3 separate regions of the Homo sapiens genome follow, and all the other regions are linked to region 1. The links are contacts of gene promoters, found by promoter capture Hi-C in blood cells and fetal thymus (Javierre and others, 2016). All regions are on one chromosome and are shown on one strand. The core of a region is centred on a gene start or on the middle of the fragment in contact, and the rest is flanking DNA. Distances in the headings are between cores, read along the strand shown. Region 1 holds the start of CHAC2 (ChaC glutathione specific gamma-glutamylcyclotransferase 2). Region 2 holds the start of RPS27A (ribosomal protein S27a). Region 3 holds the start of MTIF2 (mitochondrial translational initiation factor 2).

Region 1 (2,700 bases), core at 76-2,575:
GTTGATCTGTAAATGTGCATTTATCCTAAGCCATTGCCCCTTTTCAGGTCACTGTGTCCAACATCCCAATAGGCCAGTATAGTCTACTTAAAAGCCAAGTTCTTAACTGACCAACTCTAGTTGAGATAGAATGGTTTCTAATTCAGGTTCTTTTCGTGATTTTAATCCCATGTCTCTCTTATGAGCAGGTGCAAACTACTTTAGCGCCTTGATCTTTTCCACTTTCCATTGACCAATTTCCAAATTATTAGTTACCTCAATCTTAGTTTTCTTTATGGATTAGTTGTTTTGTAGCCAGTACAAAGCTGATTTGCATAAGCAGTGAGCTGCTGCTAATTCTCTATACATATATTGAGATTAATGTCTTTGTAGGACTGACTGAAAAGTGAATCAATGAACTTACATTTCATATTATAATTATGAGAACCATCAAGAAAGTAACATTAAAATAATGCTGGATATAGTAATGAGTTTGGTACTATGTTATTCATATAACCAGAACTTCATTTAACTTCACTAGTACTGAAAACCAAAGTGAGTTCCTTAATAACCAGCGAAAATTTTGGAAACTCATTCTGCAATCCTGTGTGTCAGAAAATAAAACTTTTGAAAGATGTAAAGAAATCCTAGAAGTAACATGCACGTTTAATCGCAAGCTCATGAAAGTCGGCTAGAATGCAGAAATGCCAACAAATTTAATTGCTAAAAAGCTGAATTTGCAACTTGATTTACTATTTCAACTCTGTGGTGACATGAGCATTCATCTTCCCGCCAATGGGACTTTTTTTCTTTTGGCAGAGGTTGCAGAGAGATGGAGTCCCCATCTCCGCACTCAGCCTGGTGCGAGCTCGTGCGCCTGTGCCCGCGCTTCTCGCCGTCTCTAGAGACTAACCACCGGCATCTTAAGCAGCTTCGGAAGGAGTGCCCGGGCTGGGTTAGAGATGGCGGGCAGGTGGCAGGGAAAATCTACAGAAATGTTACCCCAAGCCATGTGCTTTGGCCCCATGAAGCGCTAAGGTGTGGTTCTCTAGGGTGTGGGTGCTGTGTGTGGAGTTGGGGAGCAGGGGTCAGGGGGCAGTAAGTGTGGGGAGCTGACCGGCGCCTCACCTTGCCGGGGACCCCGCGGTGGTCCGTGCTGCCCTGCCAGAAGCGCCTGCTGTAGTTGGTGATGTATCCGACCAGCTTGTCCTGATAGGGGAAATCCACCTTCCAGATCAGGGACCCGTAACCAAAAACCCACATCTTCTCGCGGCTCCTCTGCCCCAGTGGCCGTGAACCCTAGCTGTCGCCGCGCCGCCGGGGACTGAAGCCTCCGGTAAGCGAGTAACCGGCCGCGCGGGGCGCAGGCGCGATGGCCACTTGGGGCGCAAAGCGCACTGGGAGTTTAGATCCAGAAAGATTTTCCGAGCGGATCTCAGTCAGCTTTATTTTATTTCCTTGATTAGGGTGTCAAGAGGCATTGACCTTCGGTGTAGTAAGCAATGGATTCTTTTGCAGCATCCGTAAATCACCCTAACCTACCTTTAGTGCCCGTGTGCAGAAAACTACAATACCCACAATGCTTTTTGGAGCTATTTGGCTCTGAAATTGGAACTGGGCTTATTTCTAACGGGGCCGAGGAAGGAGAAAAGAGCAGGAGTCGTCACTCGTGTCCAGATACGGAGGCGGTGTACCAGCACCGCAGGTAGCAAAGCACCTAGAAACACGTTTTGTTCTGCTTTGGAAATTAGATTTTTGCCTATATAACAGCAGCCAGAGGAATGTAATTCATATTTGATTTTATGTCCTGAAAAAAAAGTCTTTTGCCTTTCAAATAAAAGCAGAAAGTTTACAATAGAAGTTTACGCTTGTGAAAGAGTAGCTGTCATTTCAATGGGAATTGTTTATATATTTAAATTTTACACAAATTTATTCATCTTTAGTATTATCATTGGCTTGTTCACAAAAGAGCAGGCAAATGTTCTTAACTTGGGGCCCCTGTAAAGGCTTTGGAAACGAGCTGGGGAACCTGAATTTGTATACAAAATTTGGGGTGTACACTTTTCTAGGGGGAAACTACAGCTTTCATGAGTTTCTCCAAGGGGTCAAGGATCCTAAAATTTTTTGAAGATCTGCTCATTAGAGCTCTTGCTGCAAAATATTGTTTAGGAAATTCGCTTGGACTATCATGGCTGTGTCTCTGTGTGTGAAAACAGAAACCTTACCAAGTGATTGTTCTTTCTTGAAGATTTTTATACCATGATCTTGAATGCTAAAACACTCAGATTCAAGGGGTATTATTTGTTTTCTTATAAAGAAATCAGCAGGAAGCTGCTACCAGACAAACAAACAAAAAAAAAAGCAAGTCTTTTCCTATTTTCTCTAAGTTGTGGTTTCAAATTGCCTGATATGGTTGCTAACCCTTCTTTTTTGAAAAATTTTGAATACACAGAAAACTCAGATAAAAAGAGTGTAATGACCAATACCTTTCATCTAGATCCAGTAATTACCATTTTGCACAGTTGCTGTACTTCCTTTTTACTTTATTTATACTTTTAAATGGAGAACATTTGAAGTTGCTTGTGTTATGACATTTTACTGCCACATACTCTACATGTGTCTCATAAGAATAAGGACATTCATCCTAGAACAAGTTCCCTAAAAAAAAAGAATAAGGGCATTCTCCTAATAACTGTGATGCCATTATCACATCTGAGAAAA
Region 2 (2,820 bases), core at 321-2,820, 1.5 Mb before region 1:
ACTCTCGACGAAGGCGACTAATTTTGCCATTCTCATCCACCTGAAAAGCACAAACCTGCTGTTAAGATAATTTTACAACACATTCTGAAGTCTAATTTAAGTGACTCAAAATATTTAAGCTTTTAACTGTGTAATACTGGTGGTTTTGGTGCTTACAAACCAAAGCACCCTAAATTCTCACCAGTTATCATTGCTACAATGAAAACATTCAGAAGTCTTGGGACTTTTGAACACTAAAGGCCAGCTTTGCAAGTGGTAGACAAAGGTAAAGACCTGAACCCAAACCCGACTTTAAACTCAGAACCCTATTACATAACTGATTTCAAATACCAAACAGGAAAAACCCCAGAAAGTCTGAATTTCTCATTTCCAGAATACCTCATTTAAACCAAAGTGGGATAATATTGGGTGTTTAAGTCCAAGAAAATATTGACAAGTACTATAAAGATTAAGTTTTCCAAATAAGCCAAGACTTTGCTGACATTCTGCCCTTTAACTGGCTCACCTTATAATATTTCAGGACAGCCAGCTTAACCTTCTTTCTCTTGTGCTTATTCTTCTTGGGAGTGGTGTAAGACTTCTTCTTCCTTTTCTTAGCACCACCACGAAGTCTCAACACAAGATGAAGAGTAGACTCCTGTTAATGGAAGAATGAAGCAAGCTTTCATGATTCCACTAAGAATGGGCACACCCAACATTATGCATTTTCTAATTAAAAGCAGTAGCAGCACACAATAACATTTGAGGGAATCTTGCAGCCCCCAAACCCAATAAAGTATCAGATTCTTAACTGACAGTTTATAGGGACATTAAAGAATGCATTACATTACACCATGGGATACAACTTGCAAAATTCATAATGGGAGAACTATAGCAGTGCTTCTCAAGTATCAGTATAGGAGTTACCTAAAAATCTACTGCTATTCGAATGCCATTTTCCCTTTTTGTGTGTCAAAATGTCCAGAATACACCACATGGAGTGGCTCACGTCTGTAATCCCAGCGCTGGGAGGCCACGGTGGGAAGATCACTTATGCCCAGGAGTTTGAGACCAGCCTGGGCATGGTGGCGGGTGCCTATAGTTCCAACTACAGGAGGCTGAGGTGGGAGGACCACCTGAGTCTGAGAGGTGGAGGTTGCAGTGACTGCGCCACTCACTCCACCCTAGGTGACAGAGTCAGAGCCTGTCTCAAAAAAAGTAAAATAAAAAATTTCCAAAATAACATTTTTTTTTTAAAAGAGGCTGCTCTTCCCCTAGACAGACCTTTTGAATATTGTAGTCAGACAAAGTACGTCCATCTTCCAGCTGCTTGCCAGCAAAGATCAGTCTCTGCTGATCAGGAGGAATTCCTAATGACAAAAAACAAAAATTAAGTCACAGCACACCAAGCCTGTGATGTGCTCCAGACTTATAAGGTAACACCCCTTAATCAAATACATGATACTAAAGGCTGACAATAAGCCCTTACTAGAGGTTAGGCATGGTTCTAAATCTTTACATGTCACATTTTACCGCATTTAATATTAGGGACAATACTTGGTTGTCTGCAGTGGCTGACACCTGTAATACCAATACTTTGGGAGGTCGAGGTGGGCAGATCACTTGATGTGAAAAGTTCAAAACCAGCCTGGCCAACAAGGTAAAACCCAGTCTCTACTAAAAATACAATAAATTAGCCAGGCATGGTGGTGCACGCCTGTAATCCCCACTAATAGGGAGGCTGAAGCACAAAAATCACTTGAACCCGGGAGGCGGAGGCTGCAGTAAGCCGGGACAAGCGAATGCACTCCAGCCTGGGCGACAGAGGAGACTCCATCTCACACAAAATAAATAAATAAGTGTCCAAATTCACGCAAGTGAAATACACCTCAAGGATTCCAATCTAGGTACTGTGCTCCCCGATCACCAATGTCTATTGTGTTATTCCACAAGTATTTCGCTTTGTCAATCTGACCCCTTCCCCCATCACCAAGAGCAGGTATGTCTAGCACCTACAGGTAGGCCGAAGTCTCCGCAGGTTAAGTTTTCTTAACTACAAAATACTACTTGCCTTCCTTATCCTGGATCTTGGCCTTTACATTTTCTATCGTATCCGAGGGTTCAACCTATGAGTGTTAAAGTGAAAGCATGTTGGTTACACATTAAGGAACTACAGCAGAACTCATTTAGTTTGACAATTACCACTGAACCGAACCAGCGACAGGGCTGAGACCTACTCGAGAGACCTATTACCCACCCAGTGGGCAACCTCCCAAGTCGGCTACCGGAAAGCACCTTCATCTCCCCAGCCCAGAGCGGGCGGCGGCCGCAGGGCCACACGTGCTCGCACCCGGCGGGCAGAGCGTCTCCTTCCCCACCGCAGCTCCTCCGTTTTAACTAACTAGCTGGAACCCCTCGAGAGGAGACAGGTCCAGCCTTTGGCCACCGAAAATCACCTCTAGGTCGTTGCTCAGCAAAAGGTACTCATTTCAAAGCTTAAGTTTTAGAACCCAAATTCGGAATCATGGTCTAAGACATGGAAAGCAGCGCCGGTCCTAAAATCCACCTCAGGACCTTATTCGGACCTTGGCTTCCTCATGACCACCCGGCCCGTACCTCGAGGGTGATGGTCTTCCCCGTAAGGGTTTTCACGAAAATCTGCATTTTGGTGGCGGCTCCACCTGAGGTTGAGGAAAAGGAAGAGACAGGTTAGGTCAGGGATCACAAGAGAAGGCACCATAGGGTGCTAACCCGAGAGCAGCCGAAGTGCAGACACCCACCGCAGATGGCGGATCGAAAAGGAAGAACGCCGCGCAGGCCCACGGGGTTTCCCGGAGCTCC
Region 3 (2,755 bases), core at 31-2,530, 1.5 Mb before region 1:
TGGGATAGGAAACCAGGCACTCTGGCTCTATTACTCCTAATGCCATACACACGAGCTGACTTAGGAGAAAACAGAAAGTACTGTTCGCACAATACTAACTGGTTCTACCGCCACTGTTCGCTTGCATTTGTTTTTTCCTTCTTGTTAGGAACACGTATCTTTGAAGGAGGTATCATTTCTCCCACAATTCTCCATTTAACGTTTCCTACAGTGTTAAGCACCACCGAGGCCTCTCATAGCCCCAGAGAAGAAGTAATTTGCTTCCTAGAAATCCTCACTGTATCCAGATTCCCTCCCAGAGGAGCCATCAGTTCTCATGGGTGGCACTTTTTCTCCAGCTGATTACACTTTTTTTCTGTACCAGTTAATTTTTCCAACTTCTAATTGAATAAAGGCAGTTTTCTTAAAAAAAAAAAAAAGAGAAAGAAAAACGGAAAGGAAGGAAGAGGAAAGGAAGGAAGAAATGAAGAAAGGAAGGAAGGAAAGAAAGGAGAGGGACAGAAAGAAAAAAAGGAAAGAGAGAAAGAAAGGAAAGGAAAGTAAGAAATGGAAGGGACCTGCAGAAACGATTCACCACGCGCGGCTGACCCTGGGAGGAGCCACAGGTTGAACCAGCGCCTCCCAGGCTGGACGCCCGCCGCGGACACCGCAGACAGTCCCACCCCCAGCGGCGACAGCAACTCTCTGAATTCCGGAAAGAACCTTTTCCAGCGGGACCGGAAGCCCGGCGGGGACCGTAGCGGGGACGGACTGACCTACCGACCATTCTTCCGGGTCCAGAAGGTGATCTCCGCCCGTGCTCAGAATCCAGGGGCCCGGGGCTGTAGGTAGGAGTTAAGTGGGTAGGATCCCTTAACCAGGGTTGTCCGGTGCAGGTGGTGTGTGTTGTTTCGCCTAACGTGTCAGTGGCACAAATCACGCGAACTTCATAAACATTGTGCGTTCGGAAGCCTTTCCAAGATGCATTTAATCCCTGCGTGAGCCCACGTTAGGCATTCACGAAGGCATGTGCACTGTTCTCTCGGAAGCGGCTGGCCGGCTTCCCCTCCTCGCGCGCGGCTGTGGGTGCAGGTCCTCACTTCCCAGCCTCCCATGGGCCCAAGGCCTTCTGGGCTCCAATTTGAGGCGAGCCACCCCAGATCCGTAATTTTTCTGCAGTGATTTATTTTTACCTTTCTGGTAAGTTCCAAAGCTTCCAGCTCACATTCAGACGTTTTCCCTAACGCAACTACGTATTTGCAACATACTTTTTTCAGATTCCTTGACAAGGATATCCTAGCGGCGAAACAACACCGTACTGGGAGTCAGAACGTCTGGGTTCTAGTCTTGACTGCCATTAACTAGCGGTATGACATTGGAGAAGCTTTTTTGACCCTTCTGGATTTCCGTTTCCTTTTCTGTAAAATGAGGAGCTTGGAGTAAGTGACAAGTTTCCTTCCAGTTTTGACATTTGGGTTATTGCCTCCAATGTGTCTTTCCAGTTCCTGCCTCAATTACATATCTGTGCTTTGGTTAATATCTCGTAGGGTCCTTCCTCCCACTCCATTAATCTGTGCTCTTCTCAAATCTGGTTTCATACTGATTTAAAAATTATTTTCTCAAGGAATCCTGTGTTACCTGAGCACTCTACTTCTTGGTCCAGGGGCACAAACGTAAATAAGATATTTTCCATGTGCCATTCTTAGAAGTATTTAATGTGTGTAAATACTATTGAATGAATTTCCAAATCTTCTTTTTTTTTTCTTTAGACAGAGTCTCACTGTCGCCCAGGCTGGAGTGCAGTGGCCTGATCTCGGCTCACTGCAGTCTCTGCCTCCTGGGTTCAAGCGATTCTCCTGCCTCAGCCTCCCAAGTCGCTGGGATTACAGGCGCCCGCCACCGTACCCGGCTAATTTTTGTACTTTTAGTAGAGAGGGGGTTTCACCATGTTGGCCAGGCTGGTCTCGAACTCCTGACCTCAGGTGATCCGCCCGCCTCGACCTCCCAAAGTGCTAGGATTACAGGCATGAGCCATCACGCCCAGCCTGAATTTCTAAATCTTAATGTGTTTATTTCGTTGGCATTAAGTTAGATTTTTCCTTGATCTTTACTCGAATAAGCCTTTTAAGGTAAAATGCTTGCTCGATTACACACACATACACAACCTCATAATTGTCCGAAGGTAAACAAGTTAATGACTTGTGAATATTTTTAACTTATAAGCAATGAATCCTCAAAGCTTATAAGCGAGTATCAAGACATGTGATATGGTTTTAAAATAGCTGATGATAAAGTATATACATCATCTCATTTTCTCCTCTTAGTCTTGTAATAGGAAGGACAGATATTCAAACACTTATTTATTTATTTATTTTTAACAGAGATCCGGAAAATGAGGCCCATAGGAAACAAGTGACTTGCTGAGTCCAGATAACACTGACTGTCAGAGTGAGTGTCCACCTAAGGTTCCTTTGTTGCCTAATAAGATACTTTCTTTGCTATACTGTACTTGTTTCTGTTATCATTTCTTTTCTTTCTTTTAAAAAATATTCAGTATAGGCCAGGCGCGGTGGCTCACGCCTGTAATCCCAGCACTTTGGGAGGCCAAGGCGGATAGATCACCTGAGGTCAGGAGTTCAAGACCAGCCTGGCCAACACGGTGAAACCCCGTCTCTACTAAAAATACAAAATAATTAGCCGGGTGTGCTGGCAGGCACCTGTAATCCCAGCGACTTGGGAGGCTGAGGCAGGAGAATCCCCTGAACCCAGCAGGTGG

The links. The method cuts DNA at HindIII sites, captures the fragments that hold promoters and counts their contacts. A CHiCAGO score of 5 or more calls a contact.
Region 2: a fragment that was not itself captured here is called in contact with the fragment with the promoter of CHAC2 in region 1 in 1 of 17 cell types (non-activated CD4 T cells); the score reaches 6.2 in non-activated CD4 T cells.
Region 3: a fragment that was not itself captured here is called in contact with the fragment with the promoter of CHAC2 in region 1 in 2 of 17 cell types (total B cells and naive CD4 T cells); the score reaches 7.5 in total B cells.

The regions. Positions count from the first base shown.
Region 1 is chr2:53,766,429-53,769,128 of GRCh38, reverse strand. CHAC2 (ChaC glutathione specific gamma-glutamylcyclotransferase 2) reads right to left here and starts at 1,325. Exons shown (of 3, transcript NM_001008708.4): 1 at 1,108-1,325. The coding sequence starts at 1,242. The region is part of intron 1 of ASB3 (ankyrin repeat and SOCS box containing 3); the gene reads left to right. The region is part of intron 1 of GPR75-ASB3 (GPR75-ASB3 readthrough); the gene reads left to right. RefSeq lists enhancers at 794-983, 1,004-1,353. The HindIII fragment of the contact is 6,206 bases long and covers 1-2,700 here.
Region 2 is chr2:55,232,648-55,235,467 of GRCh38, reverse strand. RPS27A (ribosomal protein S27a) reads right to left here and starts at 2,780. Exons shown (of 6, transcript NM_002954.6): 1 at 2,760-2,780; 2 at 2,596-2,660; 3 at 2,051-2,105; 4 at 1,264-1,349; 5 at 506-637; 6 at 1-40. The coding sequence starts at 2,643. RefSeq lists enhancers at 2,501-2,680, 2,701-2,820. The HindIII fragment of the contact is 1,813 bases long and covers 664-2,476 here.
Region 3 is chr2:55,267,241-55,269,995 of GRCh38, reverse strand. It overlaps MTIF2 (mitochondrial translational initiation factor 2), which reads left to right and starts at 765. Exons shown (of 16, transcript NM_002453.3): 1 at 765-827; 2 at 1,257-1,418; 3 at 2,361-2,427. RefSeq lists enhancers at 1-727, 673-822. The HindIII fragment of the contact is 171 bases long and covers 1,195-1,365 here.